Regions from separate parts of the Homo sapiens genome. Here all the other regions are linked to region 1. The links are contacts of gene promoters, found by promoter capture Hi-C in blood cells and fetal thymus (Javierre and others, 2016). All regions are on one chromosome and are shown on one strand. The core of a region is centred on a gene start or on the middle of the fragment in contact, and the rest is flanking DNA. Distances in the headings are between cores, read along the strand shown.

What was found. The method cuts DNA at HindIII sites, captures the fragments that hold promoters and counts their contacts. A CHiCAGO score of 5 or more calls a contact.
Region 2: a fragment that was not itself captured here is called in contact with the fragment with the promoter of MRPL42 in region 1 in 4 of 17 cell types (naive B cells, erythroblasts, total B cells and 1 more); the score reaches 6.4 in naive B cells.
Region 3: a contact is called between a fragment that was not itself captured here and the fragment with the promoter of MRPL42 in region 1, in 15 of 17 cell types (total B cells, naive CD4 T cells, fetal thymus and 12 more). The highest score is 10.8, in total B cells.

What each region holds. Positions count from the first base shown.
Region 1 is chr12:93,466,035-93,468,813 of GRCh38, reverse strand. MRPL42 (mitochondrial ribosomal protein L42) reads right to left here and starts at 1,300. Exons shown (of 6, transcript NM_014050.4): 1 at 1,260-1,300. RefSeq lists enhancers at 1,079-1,348, 1,409-1,468. The HindIII fragment of the contact is 2,939 bases long and covers 1-1,519 here.
Region 2 is chr12:93,096,988-93,099,824 of GRCh38, reverse strand. The region is part of intron 3 of LOC643339 (a long non-coding RNA gene); the gene reads left to right. It overlaps LOC105369908 (a long non-coding RNA gene), which reads right to left. Exons shown (of 4, transcript NR_188219.1): 3 at 422-492. Among named protein-coding and RNA genes, the nearest start is that of LINC02412, 76 kb to the left of the region's middle. RefSeq lists an enhancer at 1,243-1,492. The HindIII fragment of the contact is 585 bases long and covers 1,072-1,656 here.
Region 3 is chr12:92,986,380-92,989,079 of GRCh38, reverse strand. No RefSeq gene overlaps it. Among named protein-coding and RNA genes, the nearest start is that of LINC02413, 3.0 kb to the left of the region's middle. RefSeq lists an enhancer at 791-840. The HindIII fragment of the contact is 1,019 bases long and covers 778-1,796 here.

The sequences.
Region 1 (2,779 bases), core at 51-2,550:
AAGATACTACATCATTTACAGTACTATCCTGTTTCTGATTAAATGAAATAGTTGTCTGCCCTGAGCCATTAATAATAATAATAATAATAAAGAAATATCAAACAAGGCCTATCCTTAGCCTATTACTCAATTGGAGGAACTCATAAATGCCCTCAAGTCCCAGATAAAATTTCACCATCTTATATGTGTACAAAGTCTTTAACTTTCCAACGTACTTTCACCACCATTTCATTTTGCTCTCGTATTAATCATGTGAGGTATCTTTATTCTGATTCATGAAGAAACTAAAGTACAAAATTTAAACGTCTTGCTTCCAAGGACTTTAGAGTCAGTCACTGCCAAATTGGGAAACTTTAAACAAGTCATTAACTAAACGATCCTCAGTTTCTCCAATGACAAAATGGGGAAAACCACAATCTTCATGGCCTGTTGTGAATAAATGACAAATAACCATTGTTAAATCTTGTTTTTAATAGTCTTCAATGAGTATCCGTGCCCTTCCCCCCAATAGTGATAAAAGAGAATTAGGACACAGGCCCTCTTATTTGCTAGTCTAAACCACTCACACTGATACCTTGCACTGCCAGTACATTAACACCGTTAACCCTGAGCTCATAGGTGTGCTTTTTAGTTTACAACCCACTTTCATATACAATATGTGCTCTGACTTTCACAAGTGTGTGAAGCAGCATCTCCATTTCAGATTAAGAACAAAGGCTCAGAGAGGTCAATCGATTACTTGCTCAGTATATCGCTGCTTAATACATGCGTGGGACGTAAACCCATGACTTCTGACCACGAATAAAACATCTTGGGGGAAATTAGGTCCCCTCTGTCCGAAGCCCAGAGAAAAGCACGCCCTGCTGGGAGTCAGATTATTCACCCCAGGAAGATCATTTCAGAGATCAAGTCCCTCAGCCCGGAATTCAACCCCAAAACAAAAGCTACAGAGCCTCTGAGGGTCAGAGGTTTGAGGAACAGGCTACCAAGAGCACCAGAACTCTTCGACCTAAAGGAGTCCCTAGAGCCACAAGCTGCATCACCTCCCCACGGGCGTCCGCCAGGGAACAAAGGGGGCGCTATAAGAAACGCGCAGCCACATGCCGGCTCTTCTGCAGGAAGGACAAAGGCTGGGGATGCAGGCAACCTCGCCCTGCCGGGAACGACAGGCGGGAGACCTCTACAACTGCCGACCAACACTGTGGGACTGCCCAGTTTCGAGGAAGTCCTCGACAGGAGGAGTAGAGGGAAGCGGTTACCTTGACGGCTTCTCACCACGAACCCGCCATCTTGTTTCAATCCTGGTCCCACGAAACAGCGCTGCGCGCGCCGTCCCAGCCCGCGGGGCATTCTGGGAAATGTAGTCTCCGCGGGAAAGCGGCCCGGGTGCAGAGAGAAAGGGAGGATTGTTGCTATGGACTTTTACCTTTAGTTGGGGAAGCGTGGCCGCAGTGTTACTAAGGTGCCCAGAAAAACAAAATCACTGCCCCAAACACATACCCTTAGAAAGTAACAAGCTTTTTTTTTTTTTTTTTTTTGTGAGGCAGTCTCATTCTGTCACCCAGACTGGAGTGCAATGGCTCCCTCACGGCTCACTGCAGCCTCTACCTCCTGGGCCCAAGAGAGCCTCCCACCTCAGCCTCCTGAGTAGCTGGTACTACAGGCGCACACCACCACACCCAGCTAATTTTTTAATATTTTTGTAGAGACGAGGTCTCGGTATGTTGCCCAGGCTTGTCTCAAGCAATCCTCCTGCCTCGGCGTCCCAAAGTGCTGGAATTACAGGCATGAGCCACCATGCAAACCTATAAGTACTTTTTAAAAAAATTATGTTAATATTCAGAGAAATCGTAGATTGCTCTTTAGTAGATGAGTTAAAGTTTCCCAGGGGAAGAGACATTCCAGAGAAGCCCTGAAATGTGGAGGCTAGGATTTGGACGTTTGAAATCAGAACCTGAAGAGAACCTCCACTCTGAAAACCTGGCACTGTGCCCTCAGAACTGTGCTGGCTACCTATTATGGGAGGAAGTAAATATGCAGAATCTTGGACCTCGCTTTCCATCTTAGGAGGAAGGAAAGACCTCTGGGCCTTTGCACTCTCTGTTCCCATTGCCAGCAATGTGCTTCTCTGACCTCTTCTCATGACCTTACAGGTCTTTCTCAAATATCATCTTAGAAAGGACCACACCATTAAAATAGCCTCACCCACCCTTATTCCATGCCCCGCTTTATTTTCCTTCAGAATATTTACCATTACCTGACTTTATATTGATTATTTGTTTGCTCGTTGAATGTCTCTTTCTTTTTTTTTTTTTTTTTGAGACGGAGTCTTGCTCTATCGCCCAGGCCGGAGTGCAGTGGCATGATCTCAGCTCACTGCAACCTCCGCCTCTCAGCTTCAAGCGATTCTCCTGCCTCAGCTTCCTAATTAGCTGGGATTACAGGTGGCCACCACCACGCCCAGCTAATTTCTGTATTTTTAGTAGAGATGGGGTTTCGCCATGTTTGCCCGGCTGATCTCGAACTCCTTACCTCAGGTGATATGCCCACCTCGGCCTCTCAAAGGGCTGGATTACAGGCGTGAGCCACCACACCCAACCTCGTTTAATGTCTCTTATGCTGGATAATGTAAGCTCCTTGAAGACAGAGACATATGTCTATCTTGTTCTTCACTGTATGCAAACCCAGCATCTCAGACTGTGCTTGGTCTCATTATAGGTCTCCAGGAAGTGTTTGCTGAATGAATGAAAAGACTAGATAACGCTGCAAGTATCCAAGA
Region 2 (2,837 bases), core at 115-2,614, 370 kb after region 1:
TAAACATAGCATCTATAATGGGCTAATGAAGGTACTGTAGTATACATTTGATGGAAGAGGCAGTGTGGAAGAGACTGACATGGCTTGTCAGAAGGACAATGAGTACCAACAAAGTAACATGGAAATGTTACGGGAAGGCAACGAGAACACAGAGAAGCCACAATTAAAATAATAGTTCGGTAAAACAGAAAGTCACAACTAAAGACTGAGAGACCGAGTTTCTTTGTGAACAAACAGTGAAGCCTCTTCTTCTTGTTAAGGAAATCCTCCATCATCACTGACGTTTCTTTCTTGAGTTAAAATGTTTTCGTCTCTGTTTCAAAATAGTCCCTTTATTTCTATGCTATATTTTGAGCATATTTTTATCTTTCCGGGAAGACAGTGGGTGAGAAAAATGTTCTTTCTAGAGAAAACTACTCACCTTTTCTCATTTGTTCATTAAAAGCAGGATTTTTAAAGTGATATATCCAGGCCATCCCATAATAGATTTCCCTGGAAGCAAGTATGCAAATGAAAGTTTGAGGTGAAGTCAGTTCTTGAGTCCCACAAGCTCTAATGTTCTTATAAATATTTCACTACACTCTAATAAAATCTCTCTGTTTTCCTAGGATGGATGATAACATAAGTTCCTCACCACTTGCAGCAACTTCTCTGAGATCATGAAAGAAATTAAGCCTTGATACATTGACGGCTGCTATTAAAGAGCTAGCTTCAAAACCATCAATTACCCTCAGCCCCACCTTAGAAGTATTAAGTGAAAGCCATCAGGCAGATTTATAATTAGAGATTGAAAATGCTGACCAGGGAGCTCACAGGGCCTTTCAAAATGCTGTCGGGAACTTGCTCAATTTTACAAGGCTATTGGAAGAACATAATTAAAGTCAACAAGGGGGCAAGAAACTTTAAGAATTTCAAGGTGGGAGAAGGGTAGCAGCTAGAAATCATTTTGATGAGAGGATTGTCCCCAAAGTTCTCCTGTGAGAACTTCAAGGAAAACTGCTAGAACGTCAGGTTAAATGACAATAGAGTTTCCTTTTGTATCAAACCTTATAGATGCGGAGTTAAGAAGCTTAATTCCACTGTGTAGAAGAGCAGAACACTAGTGCCCATGTGGGAGTTATTTCCTGGTTTGAAGAATTAGAAAGCAGGGTCCAAGCACATGCTTATGAAGTTGTGGAAAATTTGCTACGACTTAATAAGGTGGTGTGGTTTCCATTTCTGTCACCTTGAATAAGAGGCTTGTGATTTTTCAGCACATGAGGTTTGTAACACACAACTGTGTATGGAAGACCTACTCTGTGCCAGGCACCATAATGGTATGGGAAGACAAAGACCAGCTTTGCCCTCATGGAGCTCTGGTTCTAATGAAAGAAGGAAAACAAGTCCATGGGAAAGTGATTGAGATGAATGAAGGGTGTTTGGGATCAGAGGAGAAGGGCAAGTATAGCAAGAGATGTTTCTGTTTGTGTGGAGAGTGCTATGTCCGTGGTACACCAGAGGCTGTGCAGACTGGTTGAGGACTTCCTCTTCTGGATGGTAAGGCTGAGCAGAGGCAACAGAAAGGCACTAAGGAGAAAAATGGCTTCCCTTTAGTTTTACCTCCTTTCCTTTTCAGTGGCGCCCTCTAGTGGAAGTGGCAAAGAGCCAAGGGAAGCTTAAATATGTAACTGACTTCTTTTTATTTTATTTTTTTTTTTTTTAATTATTATTATTATACTTTAAGTTTTAGGGTACATGTGCACAATGTGCAGGTTAGTTACATATGTATACATGTGCCATGCTGGTGTGCTGCACCCATAGTAACTGACTTCTAAAACATACATTCACTGACAAAATGATGGTGAACAATTCGTTCTGTGTAAGTAAGACGTAGGCATCTCCATATTGTAACACTGGAGAGGAGAAAAACCAAAGCCAACATAGAGCCCTTGATATCCCCTCGGTAGTCAGGACCTAGGGGTTTACAGTAAGGAGCAGCAGGCAACAACATTAACCTTCTAACAGCAAGCTATCAAAATGAACTTGAAATAATGCACTTAGTTCCATGTAGTCCTTAACCTCCCTGTGAGAAACCTGCACATGCCTTGCTTCCTAATTCTTCTTCTGGAGCTCAGGGCCAGGATTGGTAGTGCTGCATATAGAGCTGTGTTGGGAAGAACTGTAAGACTCAATGAAGGAAGAGTGTAGTGATCAATTAGTGATGTCTGCCAAGAGTATGGGAAGGGATGGGGACAGCACATGTGCTATGTATTTGCCAACCCTGAACTGGGGCATATTTTCAGTAAGCTGTCTCTGCCATGGAACTGTAGTGTACAAAGCTAACTAGTATTAATGAATACTAGTTACTAGTACTAGTATTCACTTGTAACTTCTCCAGCATGAGATAATAGTGCCTTTGCTGACCTTCAGTGAAAATTTTCACAGACTTTACCAGTAATTTTCATAGATGACAGACACACTTTGGTAGATATTAATAGTCTGGGGATTAGATACTAGGCTGGTGCAAAAGTAATTGCTGTTTTTGCCATTGCTTTTAATGGCAAAAACTGCAATTACTTTTGCACCAAATAGATACACTCCACTGTGGAAGAGAGATAGTTCGTTTGGATTTTTCATATCTAGAGGATATATGCTTCAAGACCTTTAAATTCTCCATGTTGATACACAACAAATATCCTTCTCATTGCTAATCTGATTCCTTGTTTCTGGGAAGGAAGAATCCTGGTTAATGAATACCAATATCATTGTTACTGGGAAGATATTCCATCAGTAGGATAATGATAGTATCTCCTTGATAATAAGTTGACATTTTGGGTTACATGCCAATTCTTGGTAAC
Region 3 (2,700 bases), core at 38-2,537, 480 kb after region 1:
CAAAAGTAGGATTAGATGAACACCTGGGATGAAGCAAATCCTTAAAGGAAAATAATATGATCTCAGGATCTTGAAAACATGTTTGCAAGATACATTTTTCCTTGAGATTAAAATCTTAGACTTTTGTTATCTCTTCCAAATGAACCATTTAATCAATGAGACAGTTTATTGGACAAATAGATGTTTTCCTTGCACTGTGCCAAAAAACAGATTTGATTGATTTTACAATTAAATTGAGGGAAGTGGCTGATAGTTTTTGCAAACTCATTCCTTGCCCTTTATTGATTTTTGTTTAAAGTTTAGCCATTGAACATTACAATAAAGTAACTAAGCAAGCCACCTTGAACTGACAAAACAAGGGCACTCACTAAGTGAAAACACCACACATAATGATAAGACCTGTCAGAGCACTTATGGATTCTGCATCTGATCACTGGAATATGACGTCTAGAGTACTAGGATTAAGAATCTCAGCCTTGAAGTTAAAAAAAAAAAAAAAAAAAGGACTCTTAACCTTTTCCTGGCACAGTGGCTCATGCCTGTAATTCCAACACTTTGGGAGGCCAAGGCTGGAGGACTGCTTGAGGCCTGGAGTTTAAGACCAGGCTGGGCAACATAGTGAGACCCCTCCCCTTCCCATCTCTACAAAATAATAAATAAATAAATAAATAAATAAATAAATAAATAAATAAATAAATAAAAGAATCCCAGCCTTGAGGTTAGCTTTGGACTATCAAAGCTGCCTCAACTATTGCTCATTTAGAGAGCTCAAAAGCTTTTTTAAGAACTCGCTTATTTGTTTCATTTCCTCTTCTGAAGATTTTTTTTGCAGATCCAGACTTTGAAGAGGCTCCTCCCTCCTGCCAGGCTCACTTGCCCTTGTCCTTGCTGTGACAAATTACATATTTCAAAACTCTCAAGTAGTGCCCCGCTTCTGTCCCAACGCTACCACCACCATGCATATCCCTTGCTGAACTCTGAAACCAAGACTCAGTTTCAGGAAACACAGCTGTCAGAACACTCCTCCAGTTACAGAGTCTACAGGCATCTCACACTAGGTCTCCAGGTCCCCATGTCCCAGCATGAAGTGGGGGTGGAATGTGGCAGAGGCCTGTCACCTCTCCTCCCTCCAGGGCTGGCAACAACTTCCCCCGACCTGGGTCTTCTGTTTCACAACAGATTCAGTCTTTTCAACTTCTGGATGCCTCTCTTGGTAGCTCACACCTGCAATCCAAGCACTCTGAGGGGCAGAGGATCCTTTGAGCCTCCGAGTTCAAAATCAGGCCAGTCAACATAGTGATACCCCTTCTCTATCAAAAATAAGAACTAAAAAAACTTTTTAAATGGATGCTTCTCTTAGCTTAGCTTCTCTTTGCATTTGAAAAATGATGCCAATTCTTTTCCTCAGGGGACGTCTTTGAATGCCTCTGGCACTTTCACAGATTCCTCCTTTTTTTTTTTTTATGAAGCAAAATGTGGCAATTTAGACGTTTCATTAGTTGTTACTAAGCTGTGTCTCTGCTTGTTTTGTAAACTCTTTCCCAGACCCAGTGGAAAAGCGCATGCACTTCTTTTACTTTTTTGAAGAGAACTAGCACCCTCTGTAGGCCAATCTTGTTTATTAATAGTTTCTAGTGCCAGTGCCTAAGGCAAAAAAATTGCATTTGTCAAACCTATCTATGAAAATCCCTTAAATTATCAGGAAGCATAAAAACCAAGAATTAGTTTCTTTTGTTTCTGTTTTGGTCAGTGTCTCCCTTTTTTGGAGTAGTGGATTTCAACAGGGGAGGGAAGCTTAAATAAAAAGAGAGTCTTTTTCTCTACCTCTCTTTTTGTCTTTTCTGCCACGTGCTTATGTGGAGAAGCTTGTATTCTTCAATTTCCATATAATATATTCATTCACTCAGAAATGTTTATTGAGTCAACTACCTACCAAGCACAATACAGATTCTGATACAGAGAGATCCCTGCTCTCATGGAGCTTACATTCTAATAAGGAAAGAAGATTACCAGCTAGATTTCAAGAAATGCTTCTTCGGAGAATAATAGATACTCTGAGCATAATAAAATGAGAATGGTGTAGAGAGTGATAGGGCAGTGGGGTAAGCTGTATTAAATAGAATAGTCATGGTGGGCCTCCAGAAGGAGGTGATTTTTGGCAGAGATTTGAATGGAGAGGAGCCGGATTCATAAATTCTGTGCTGGGGTGTGACCACAGCAGTCTGGCTTGCCAAATCTACTCCTAATCTCTACATTTACTGCCTCCCACATGTTGTATTTTGGCTACACCTCATTAGTCCCCAAAAAGTAGATTACGAGGTGGGAGGATCACTTAAGGCCAGGAATTTGAGACTAGCCTGGGCAATATAGTGAGACTCCATCTCTAATTTATGAAAGAGAGAGAGAGAGAGAAAGCAAAAAAAAAAAAAAAAAAAAAAAAGGCTGGACATGGTGGCTTCACCTGTGATCCCAACATTTTAGCAGGGGCAAGGCAGGAGGATTGCTTAAGACCAGGAGTTAAAGAACAGCCTAGGCAACATAGTCATACTCTGTCTCTATTATTTATTTATTTATTTTTTGAGATAGAGTCTCGCTCTGTCACCCAGGCTAGAGTGCAATGGTGTGATCTCGGCTCACTGCAACCTCTGCTTCCCGAGTTCAAGCGGTTCTCCTGCCTCAGCCTCCTGAGTAGCTGGGACT